Linked DNA regions of Homo sapiens: regions 2, 3 and 4 are each linked to region 1. The links are contacts of gene promoters, found by promoter capture Hi-C in blood cells and fetal thymus (Javierre and others, 2016). All regions are on one chromosome and are shown on one strand. The core of a region is centred on a gene start or on the middle of the fragment in contact, and the rest is flanking DNA. Distances in the headings are between cores, read along the strand shown. Region 1 holds the start of PRR18 (proline rich 18). Region 2 overlaps RPS6KA2 (ribosomal protein S6 kinase A2). Region 3 has its middle 38 kb from the start of LNCDAT. Region 4 has its middle 19 kb from the start of MPC1-DT.

Region 1 (2,769 bases), core at 166-2,665:
GTTCTCCACTTTCCAGGCACAGAACTGTGGGCCTCCTGCCGCCACTGACGTGCCTCTTCCCACACCCATCCAGAGATTCTAAAACCTGGAATAAAACATATTGAGGAGGAGGTTTCAGTATCTTAGGACCTCACCTGTCAAGCCGATTAACAGCCTGAGCCCACCGGCAGAGACAGGCTGGCAGGGATGGAGGGAAAGTGCCTGTGAGCTGGGAGGCTTGTTTCAGAGCTGTATTGGGGTGGCTTGGGAGGTGCTGGTAGAGATGACAGGGCCCAAACCTGTCACCCCAACCCAAGCTCTGGTGAGAAGTGTTTCCCACCACCTGCCAGGTTTCCTTGACGCTCCCATGTATCCACAGCGCAGTTCTCTGAGGCCACCAACAGTCAACAAGGGGAGGCGTTGCTGCTGCCTCGGAGACTGAGGCGGCTGGGGGAGGGCCATGCTGTCCTGCTGTGACTGTTGGCACAGGGCACATTTGTGTTTACCCACAGTTGAATGTGCTCTGGAGCTAACCTGGGGCCGTAACCATCACACACCTGGTTTCCATCAGAAAAGTGTATCTGATGGAAAGTACTTTGTGGAGATCTAAGCAGCTGATGATTATCCTTAAGTAATGCAGGGACTGCACACATGAAATGTTGACTTTTTGATCCGTCACTTTGCAATTGTTCAATTATTTATTAAACAAACATTTGAATATTGTAGGATGTCTTCATGTGTCTACGACTAGAATGTAAATTGACAGTGAAGATTTATCTCATTAATTCTGAATCTCTGCTACAGTGATAAATATATTGCTTTGCTCATAAGAATTATTAAAGGGACTTGATGTCTAATATTTGCCATGTAATCAGCATTATATAGCTGAAACTGAACTATTTTGCCTGTTCATAGATACTTAGGTTTTGAATTTGAAAGTGACTCCTCAAGGGGTGGCATGAACACTATGTAAGATTCACTGAGGGTCATTTCTCCCCTCTCAGCTCCAGCCCGCTTTTCTCTGTGAAGCAGGATGTGTCCGGGGCCGCAGAGCTGCATCTACTGGCGGTGCCTTTCCCGCCGTCTCGAAGGCACGGAGAGGCTACAGGGGATTTTCTCTGAAACGTGCAGGGCCTCCACCTGTGACTCCGGAAGGCTGCCGGCTCCCCCAGGGGAATGCTCCTGGCTTTCGACGGACTACATTAACCTCGGACCACCGGAGCGCCAGCTGGGGGAGCCCCGGGATGCCTGGCGCGCGCTCCGCCCTCCGCTGTCCTGGCACTTTGCTCCCATTCAACAGTCGGTCGTGACACCAGCCGGGCACAGCCCGGGGCCTGGCAGGGCCGCGTCCTTAGCGAGCGCGCTGGGCTCCTCCTCCTGCCGGCCCGGCCCGCGTCTCAGCTGTGGGGACCCGGGGGCGCCGCGACTCGCCCACAGTCGGACGGCGGGAGGCGGTTCCTGCAGGGTCCAGTCCCGGGAGCACCCCCAGGAGGAGGGGAGGGTGGGAGCGCCTCTCTTTGAGTCCCCGGGTTTGGTCGCTGGGATGTGAGGAAGCCGGAGAGGCCGCGGCTGGACGCAGGTGGGTGTGGAGGGGCCGCCCGGACTGCGGGGACCCGCTCCGCGCACAGTGGCTGAGCGCCCGCCTCTCTTTCCAGGGGCTGAGGATCCGGCGGCTCGGCTGCACTATGCCCTTCCCGCCCATGCCGCCGCCGCCCGCCCCCGCCCCGGGGGCCCAAGCCGCGCGCCAGTTACCCCGGAGGCCCTGCGCCGCGGGGGACAAGAAGAAGAGGCCCCCACAGCGGCCCGAGGGGCTCCTCTCCAGCTCCTGGCCCTCCGCCACGCTCAAGAGGCCGCCGGCCCGGCGCGGCCCCGGCCTGGACAGGACGCAGCCGCCGGCCCCTCCGGGCGTCTCCCCCCAGGCCTTGCCCAGCCGCGCGCGGGCCCCAGCCACGTGCGCCCCGCCCCGGCCGGCAGGCTCCGGCCACAGCCCAGCGAGGACCACCTATGCGGCGACCTCGGCGGGGACGGGGACCACCGCCGCGGGCACCTCCTCGGGGGCGGGGCCTTGTCCAGACTCCGCTGCGCGCTTCTGCCTGAATCTCACCCCCGAGGCCGTCCTGGTCATCCAGAAGCGTCATCTGGAGAAGCAGCTGCTGGCGCGGCCCCGCAGGCCCTTCCCCTCACCCTCGGCCGAACCCAGGCGCCTACTCGCCCCGTGTCTCCCGGCTAGGGCCGCGGGCCCGCGGAGGGGCGGCCCCGCCAGCGACCCCGACGCACCCCCCACCGCCGGCCAGGGCCGCCGCGCGCCTCCGCCCGGCGCCCAGCTGCTGCACGGCGGCCTGCAGGTTCCCCAGCTCAGCCCGCGGCCCGGGGCCCTGCGGCCGATGCTCAAGGTGTCGCTGCTCAACGAGCGGCACAGGTACGACGACGTGGAGTACGAGGAGGAGCCAGAGGCGGTGGACGAGGGCCTGGTACGCAAGTGCACGGAGTGGCTGCGCGGCGTGGAGTCCGCGGCTGCCGCGCGGGGCCGGGCGGGGGCCCTGGACTCACGGCGGCACCTGAGCACGCTGTGAGCCCAGCGGGCCTGCGGGGACAGGCCAGGCCTGATCCCACCTCACTTCCTGCACGCGCCACTCCGCCTAGGGGCCCTCGGGGGAGACCGCAGGCTCCTCTGGCCGCCAGCGCCCACTTTCGGGACACCAGTGCGCAAGCTGGCCCACGTGGGGCGCAGCCAGACTCGCCCGACGGCCACGGCCCCCCTCCTGCCCTCGCCAGCCGGCAGCCCGGGCC
Region 2 (2,769 bases), core at 155-2,654, 110 kb before region 1:
CCATTTGAAAAAACTTTTCAACAGTAACATTTTTATGTAAAATTGTCTTCTGTAGACAATTTGGATGAAATCTGCATATTTATTCCAAGTTAGAGAGATGATGCAGTAGTCTCCTTATACAACCAGGACGCAGAGCTGCGGTTCACCTGGGATGGGAAATGGATCCGTCATAGCGCAGGGAGCAACTAAGTTTACGGATTTTCTCTGCACCCCAATTCTCACTCCAGATTGGTTCCCCGACAGCAGCAAGTCAGCAGCTGTCAGATTGAGAACCGCAGGGCTCCGGGGTGATTTGCCACTGAAAGCTTACGTTGTTCAGTGTCTGTGTCTGCTCCCAGCCCCGCTCGGAGCAGCTAGCAGGCACCTGGTGAACTTCTCTCTTTTCACATTTCCCGGGAACAAGTTCCATTAGGTTCTGAATTCAAGGATGTGTTTATAAATCTAAGCCCAATTTCTTGCCTTTGAGAAAAGCCAGTGGTAAAGAGAGGAAGGGAAGGGCTGTGGCTGATGTTGCCAATGGGACAGGGGAGGAGGGAACTGGGAAGGAAGGCGGACTTCAGAGTCTGTGTGGATCCCGTGGGTTCTTGATGGAACTGGACCAGAGCTGCTCCGATGGGAGGGGAGTCAAGCGAGCAGCCAGGTCTGAGGCGCCTGGCATCTCACTGTGGGTCTTGGAGTTGTTTAAGAGGTCACCCAGGGCCACTGGTCCATTGCAAAGATGCTTCTGCGTGCTGAGACGTGAACGGATGTGCAGCCAGGGGCTGGACTGAGAGGCTGTTTTAGGTTATGCAGGGGTCATCCAGACACTTGAGCAACCTGTGGCCCCTTTAAAAATAACCAAGTTTGGCTGGGTGCGGTGGCTCACGCCTGTAATCCCAGCACTTTGGGAGGCCGAGGCAGGTGGATCACCTGAGGTCAGGAGTTGGAGACCAGCCTGGCCAACATGGTGAAACCCCGTCTCTACTAAAAATACAAAAATTAGCCAGGTGTGGTGGTGTGTGCCCACAGTCCCAGCTACTCAGGAGGCTGAGGCAGGAGAATCGCTTGAACCCGGGAAGTGGAGGTTGCAGTGAGCCGAGATCACGCCACTGCACTCCAGCCTGGTTGAAAGAGCAGGACTCCGTCTCAAAAAATAAAAACTAAAAAAAATGAAAGTAACCAGGTTATAAGCCTCTGTTCATGCCTTACTTAATCAATATTAATATTGATAATATTATGGGGGAGGAAAATGACGTTTTCCTCATCCCTCATAAGTTCTTAGCTGGACCAGACCCCTGTAACAAAAGACAGATTAACAAGAGAAAAAGAAGTTTATTAACACACATCTTCTCATTTATGCATGCGAGATGCCCAGAGAAGGAGTCATCCTCACAGAGGTGGCTTTGAATCCAGCCTACATGGTATCTGCAACAAAGAACAGAGAATTTTTAGAGACCTGGCAAGACAAAGGAAGAGGGTTAGGGTCTCCAGGGGCTGCAGCTTGGGGAGGTGCAGGGCTGGCCTATGGAGGCTGGTCCCAGGTGGGACCACATGCATCCAAAGCTGTCCCTAGGGGAAGCCTTTGTCCTCTCTGGTTGGGGGTAGGTACCTTTTGTCTTAATCCATGTCCTGATTTTAGACAAATGGAGGACACAGAGCTCTCCTGCATCTGCTGCTTCTTATGTATCTTCAGCTCAGCGCCCCTCACGCCTATGCAGCATATTTTGGGGTGGCATATTCTGGTCTCCCACAATATTGATTTTATTGATTGTAGAATGCCCTAGGTTGTGATATTCCTTTGCCATTTACAAAGCACTTTTACCAACTTTTTTTACTTTCACTCTCATCCACCATACAAAGTAGGCAGGGTAAAATCTATTAACCATGTTTCACAGAGTCAGAAAGCACAAGCTCCATGTGTGTAAGTGACTTCTGAAGGTCACCCCGCTGATGGATTAGGAAGTGAGGCTTGCACCATGAGCACCACATTCATTCAGCATGCGCTGGCTGGTCCCCTCCATGGTGCAGGCTCACACATGGTAGCAGCGATACAGAGAAAAGGACAGGCTCCTTGCTCTCATCTCTAAGGAAATTGAGCCGAGCTCTCCCGACTCGATATTTAATGCTAAATCCAGTCATCTGCAGTAATCCATGAGCACCATTGTGGCTTCCTTTGTTGTTATTCAACTGTAACTATATCAGAGGATTGCCCTCTACTGAAGTATGTAATCCTAGGATGCATACAAGTTTTGCTGCTTTAACAGTTCTTCAAAAAAATTAAATGTTATCACGTAGCCCAGAATGGAACTTCTGGGTATATACCCAAAAGAATTGAAGGCAGGGACGCAAAGAGACATGTGTCCACCCATGTTCATAGCAGCACTATTCACAACAGCCAAAAGGTGGAAGCCACGAGAGTGTCCCTCGGTGGATGAATGGGTAAGCAAAACGTGGCATGCACACACAGCGGAACATTGTCCAGCCTGCAGAAGGAAGGAACTTCTGACCCCTGGAGGAAGCTTAGGGTGTTATACTAAGTGAAATGGGCCAGTCACAGAAAGACAAACATTGCATAATTCCACTCCTATGAGGTCCCTGGAGGAGTCAGATTCACACAGACGGACAGTAGAAGGGTAGGTGTTGGGGGCTGGGGGACAGGGAGTTGTTGTTTAATGGGGACAGAGTTTCAGTTTGGGAAGGTGAAATGCTCTGTGGATGGATGGTGGTGATGTTGGCACCACAATGTAAATGGGCTTAATGCTGCTAAACTGTGCACTTAAAAAGGGCTTT
Region 3 (2,769 bases), core at 175-2,674, 100 kb after region 1:
ACATAGCCGCAGACAAGAGAGAGTGAGGACCAAGCAAAAGGGTTTTCCTCGTAGAAAACCATCAGATCTCGTGAGACTTACTCACTGCCATGAGAACGGTATGGGGGAACTGCCCCTGTGATTCAATTATCTCCTACCAAGTCCCTCCCACAACAAGTGGGAGTGATGGGAGCTACAATTCAAGATGAGATATGGGTGGGAACACAGCCAAACCATACCAGAAACAGTACCTTTTTTTTTTTTTTTTTTTTTTTAAGATCTATAAATATAAAGGCAGTGTAGAAACCTCAGGGAGCCTGGACTTGGCACAGCCTAGAACTAACACAGTTCAGATTCGCTTTGCCTGGAGGACTGGAAGGATGGGCCTGCCTGGGGTATGAGAGACCAGAGCTTTCTGGCAAAAATCCTCAGCCCAAGGTTAGGCACAGTGCAAATTTGGTCCCAGGACATCAGGCCAGTTTGAGAGGCCCAAAGAGCTATGCCTGAGTCCCAGAGGCCAGTGGATTAGTTCAAGAACATTAAACCAAGGTGTGTGTTGCAAGAAATTTCGCTAAGGTGTTTGTTGCAAAAGATACATTAAAATCTTAAGTCCTGGGGCCTGTGAAGTGGCCTTCTTTGGAAATAGGATTTTTGCAGATGACATCGAGATGTGAGCTAGGATGAGGTCATCAGGGTGGGTCCTAATCCAACATGACTGATGTCCTTACTGAAGAACATCTGAAGAGGAGGAGAGACACACGGGGTCATGGCTGTGTGAAGACGGAGGTGGAGACCGGGCTGACGCACCAGCAATGCCAGAAGAGGGAAGAGGGGAGGGAAGCTTCCCAGGAGGGAGCACGGCCCTGCCGATACCGTGATGTCAGGCTTCTGGGATCCAGAACTGTAAGGGAACAAATTTCTGTTGTTTAAAGGCACCCAGTTTGTGATGCTTTACAACACACCACAAATGATGGATGACGAATACAGCATCCATCATAACACAGAAGCCCAGTGACCCAGCAGCCGCGGTGGCGCGCTCTGGCAATTTCCAAAGAGACCGCTGCTAGCGTCCCAGCAGTTATATCCACACTGAGTTAGACACTAATGGGGTTTGGGACACAAGACCCTGAAATCTGGCACCTTGCATATTCCCGCAGTTCACTGCCATCAGGTGACACCCGCTCTGTGTACTCACCCTTTTCCACCACTGTCCGCTCTCCATCAAGCTTAGCCTAAAGATACACAGGCCTCCCTGTGCCTTTTGGTCTTCATATCTAAAGGTGCCTGTGTCATGTAAAAATTACATACAATGAAATAAATTCGCCTGCTTTTCTCTTGTTTATCTGTCTTTTATGATAGGTGTCTCAGCCATAAACCTAGCAATGGGTGAGGAAATAACTTTTTCTTCCCTTACAGAACTGGATTCAGCACCGCAAAACTGAAACCGCCTCCAGAAAAGAGCCTCTTGCGAGAACGCAGAGGCTTGCCTTTCTCTCCTGTCGCTGAGAGTCCCTGGCTGGCTTGGGGACCCCATGGTGCTGCTCGCTCTTGCCTGTTGCTGGTGGGGGCTTCCTGCTCCTGACCTCATACTACCTCTGCGGCAGAGGGCCTGAGACAGAGGGGATCCCTGCCCATCCCGCCAGCCCTCTTCTCAGGAAGCTTCTGGAATCTCCACCCAAAAACTTCACTGACATTCTGCTGACCAGAGCGTGGTCATATGGCCACCCCATCTCACAAGGGGGCTGGAAAAATGCATTTTCTTCAGCTGCGCACCTTATACCCCACAGCAGTACCTACGGGCCTGGTAGTGAGGAAGAGGATGGGTAACGGAAGTTAGGTCAGCAGCTAGCAGTGTTGGCCACCAGGGGAGAGTCACAGCCACTTTCTGGGCCTGGTGGTGACTTCACATTGGTTGCCAGGAGGATGATTTTGAAGATACCGTAAGTGTTAGTAATAGTAACGCTGCTACCGGAGTGCTAGGAATGATGGCAGCTGGGGCTGGAGCTCCTGCTGAGCTGGGGAGAGAGAGCCTGGCTGTGCTTTCTTGTTTCAGTTTGTTTTGCTTTGTTTGTTTTACCTGCAGGCCTGTCGAGCCCTCTTGTAACTAATCTTCCAGTGTCTGCCGCTGAAGGTGTCCAGTAGCTAACTTCAGGACTCTGTCATCCCCTCTTCATTTGGGGGAATTTCCTCTACTTACTTGAAACATTCAGATTTTCCACTGTCAGTTTTGGGTGAATGAACTATGCTTATTACTTTTAATAAAAGTCTTCAAAATCTCATCAGTGCCATGTCTTTTTCTTAGGCCTTGAAAATCATTCTTGGTTTATTTTTGAGAAATATTTAGGCCAGGTGTCGTGGCTCATGCCTGTAATCCCAGCACTTTGCGAGGCTGAGGCAGGAGGATTACTTGAGGCCAGGCTGGGCCACATATCGAGATTCCGTCTCCACAAAAACTAAAAAATTAGCCAGATGTCATGGTGCATACCTGTAGTCCCAGCTACTTGGGAGACTGAGGTGGAAGGATGACTTGAGCCCAGGAGCTTGAGGCTGCAGTGAGCTATGACACTGCCAGTTCACTGCAGTATGGGCAACACAGTGACACCCTGTCTCAAAAAAAACACCAACATTAATTTAAAAAAATTCAAATAGTCATGAAAATCGTTCTTGATTTCAGTTTTAGAGTGCTGCTTATTATTTTGAAAGACTTAATCTTAGTTAAATTGTATGTTCTGTTTCCAAATTTCTCCTTACTTGTAACTTAAAATTGATGTCTCCTTTATATATTGAAAT
Region 4 (2,769 bases), core at 139-2,638, 94 kb before region 1:
ACAGTGTATTGTATGTTTCAAAATAGCTAGAAGACTTGAGACGTTCCCAACATATAGAAATAATAAATACTGCAGGTGATGGATACCCTAAATCCTCTGACTTGGTCATAACACATTCTGTGCATGCAACAAAACACCACACCTACCCCATAAGTGTGTATGAATATGTATCAGTAAAAACATGGAAACAACCCAGATATCCACCAGTGGATTCATGGAGAAACAAAATGTGCTATCCATGCAATGGAATATTATTCAGCCACAAAAATAAACGGAGTGCTGATAAATGCTCCAACATAGGTGAGCCTTGAAACACTACACAGTGAAGGAAGCCAGACACAAAGGCCACATGTGGTGTGATTCATTTACATAAAATGTCCAGGACAGCAAATCCACAGAGACAGAAAGCAGATTGGTGGTTGCCAAGGAGAACATTAGTGGAGAGGGAATAGATAGTGACTGATAATGGGTGTAAAGTGTTTTTTTTGGTGGGGGTGCCAAAAATGTTCAAAAATTAGAATGTGATGATGGTCACACACCCTGTAAACATACTGAAGGTGGTACATTTCAAATGGGTAAATTGTATGGTATGTGAATTATATCTCCATAAAACGATTAACCATTCCCTGAAAAAAGATTAGGTTTCACTGTGAGCAGCAGGAAGCCCAAAGTGACAGCAGCCTTCTGAGGTCTAAGTTTGTAGATCTCTCAGGCGAGCCTCAGGGCAGGCTGGATGGCAGCCCAGCTCCTCTGAGCCCTCCCGGTCCCAAAGGACCTCTAACTCACAGGCCTCATCTTCATGCTTCCAGATGCCAGCATCTGCATTCCGGAAAGCCTGCTGGATGAGGCGACAAAGGAAGGTGAAAGAAAGGGTGTGGAGCAGCTAACTCTAAGAATGGTTCCTGAGAGAGAGAGAGAGAGAGAGAGAGAGAGAGAGAGAGAGAGAGAGAGAGGGAGGGGGAGGGGGAGGGGGAGGGGGAGGGGGAGGGGGAGGGGGAGGGGGAGGGGGAGAGGGAGAGGGAGAGGGAGAGGGAGAGGGAGAGAGAGTCATCTCATGGGGCCACCTTTGTATATGCAGTCAGTCACTGACCGAAACATTGTGTCGTGCATGACTGTATATATCTATATCTATACAGATAGACAGATAGATAGATAGATAGATAGATGCATATACAATGGTGGTCCTATAGGATGACAATACCATATCATATTTTTACTGTACCTTTTCTATGTTTAGATATGTCTAGATACACAAATGCTTATCATTGTGTTACAGTTGCCTACAGTATTCAGCACAGTACCATGCTGCTTAGGTTTGTAGCCTGGGAGCAATAGGCTACACCATAGAGCCTAAGTACACAATGGGCTATACCATCTAGGTTTGTGTAAATGCACTCTCTAATGTCGACACAGTGATGAAATTACCAGAACGTGTTTCCATCATTCAGTGATGCATGAAAGAGAGAGAGTGTGTGTGTGTAGCTAACGCAGTTAGACTGTGTTTAGCTTGCAGAAAGTGAGGCAATTTGGCTGTTATCTGGGCCTGATATTTTCACACCAAATCATACATGCCAGCAGATACATGGCAAGGTCCCGGGCAGCTTGGTCATTTTAAAGGACCTCAGAATTTCTTCCACCGTAACTCCATTTACTCTCAACAGCCTCCCACTCAGATACCTGGTGCTAAGTACTGTCATCAGGTTTCAGTGCCGTTTTGGTCAGAGATGTCCAACAGACAAATCCTGCGTAATCCTTTCCATTTCAGCTCAGACATTATTACCTCCATACAATCCGGACTGCCCTTTATACAGCCTCATACCGGATCGAGGAAGAGACTGAAGTGAAATTGTTCTTGTGTGCGCCTCTCTCCCCCTAGCCTGGAGCACCCCTGAGAGTTGCAATCCTTTTCTTCTTTCTATGCCTGGCCCGGTGCTGGGCACAAATCATTATTTGTAAATGAGTGAATAGGTGGGGACTGGGCTGGAATTTACGAGTTCCCTGTTCAGCGTCCACTACGCATGTGGCCATTCAAAATTCTACATGGGGCCTCGGGTGGCTGGGGTGGCCTTGTTGAACGTGGCCTGTTAACTATATAAATTCACCTCTTTATTTTTTTTTTTTAATTGAGACGGAGTCTCGTTCTGTCGCCCAGCCTGGAGTGCAGCGGCACAATCTCAGCTCACTGCGACCTCCTCCTCCCGGGTTCAAGTGATTCTCCTGCCTCAGCCTCCTGAGTAGCTGGGATTACAGGCGCGTGCCACCACACCTGGCTAATTTTTGTATTGTTTAGTAGAGATGGGATTTCACCATGTTGGCCAGGCTGGTCTTGAACTCCTGACCTCAGGTGATCCGCCCTCCTTGGCCTCCCAAAGTGCTGGGATTACAGGCGTGAACCACCACCCCGGCATAAATTCATCTCTTTTCCTTCTGGAAACTTCACTACGTTGCGGGACAAGTAAGTTCTGTGTGTTTGCAATTGTTACAAAATGCCAGCAGAGGGCAGTGCTTGTACAGCTAGACCTGCAGGCCATGCAGAACGCGCTCAGCCCTGCAGCTCTGGGAGCCCTCTCAGGACCCGTGCACTGCGATGGCCAGAGCCCCCATGGGTCACCGGTCAGACAGGGTCCTGCCACTGGCTCCTCATACAGCCCAGGGCAAGCGATTGCCAACCTGAAGTTCACAACAGGACCAGGAGTCCGTGGGCTCCATCAGTATTAAGAAAAGCTGATGAAGGCCAGGCGCTGTAGCTCACATCTGTAATCCCAGCAC

Evidence for each region. The method cuts DNA at HindIII sites, captures the fragments that hold promoters and counts their contacts. A CHiCAGO score of 5 or more calls a contact.
Region 2: a contact is called between a fragment that was not itself captured here and the fragment with the promoter of PRR18 in region 1, in 1 of 17 cell types (neutrophils). The highest score is 6.0, in neutrophils.
Region 3: a contact is called between a fragment that was not itself captured here and the fragment with the promoter of PRR18 in region 1, in 1 of 17 cell types (neutrophils). The highest score is 5.4, in neutrophils.
Region 4: a contact is called between a fragment that was not itself captured here and the fragment with the promoter of PRR18 in region 1, in 15 of 17 cell types (total B cells, naive CD8 T cells, monocytes and 12 more). The highest score is 10.9, in total B cells.

What each region holds. Positions count from the first base shown.
Region 1 is chr6:166,307,038-166,309,806 of GRCh38, reverse strand. PRR18 (proline rich 18) reads left to right here and starts at 1,415. Exons shown (of 1, transcript NM_175922.4): 1 at 1,415-2,769. The coding sequence starts at 1,665. The coding sequence ends at 2,552. LOC107986669 (a long non-coding RNA gene) reads right to left here and starts at 2,259. Exons shown (of 3, transcript XR_001744464.2): 1 at 2,084-2,259; 2 at 1-85. RefSeq lists an enhancer at 983-1,262 and a silencer at 1,333-1,932. The HindIII fragment of the contact is 8,012 bases long and covers 1-2,769 here.
Region 2 is chr6:166,420,276-166,423,044 of GRCh38, reverse strand. All of the region lies in intron 17 of RPS6KA2 (ribosomal protein S6 kinase A2), which reads left to right. It overlaps LOC124901460 (a long non-coding RNA gene), which reads right to left. Exons shown (of 2, transcript XR_007059866.1): 2 at 1,292-1,404. Among named protein-coding and RNA genes, the nearest start is that of MPC1-DT, 38 kb to the right of the region's middle. The HindIII fragment of the contact is 2,193 bases long and covers 308-2,500 here.
Region 3 is chr6:166,204,228-166,206,996 of GRCh38, reverse strand. No RefSeq gene overlaps it. Among named protein-coding and RNA genes, the nearest start is that of LNCDAT, 38 kb to the right of the region's middle. RefSeq lists an enhancer at 405-1,604. The HindIII fragment of the contact is 433 bases long and covers 1,208-1,640 here.
Region 4 is chr6:166,400,722-166,403,490 of GRCh38, reverse strand. No RefSeq gene overlaps it. Among named protein-coding and RNA genes, the nearest start is that of MPC1-DT, 19 kb to the right of the region's middle. The HindIII fragment of the contact is 5,224 bases long and covers 1-2,769 here.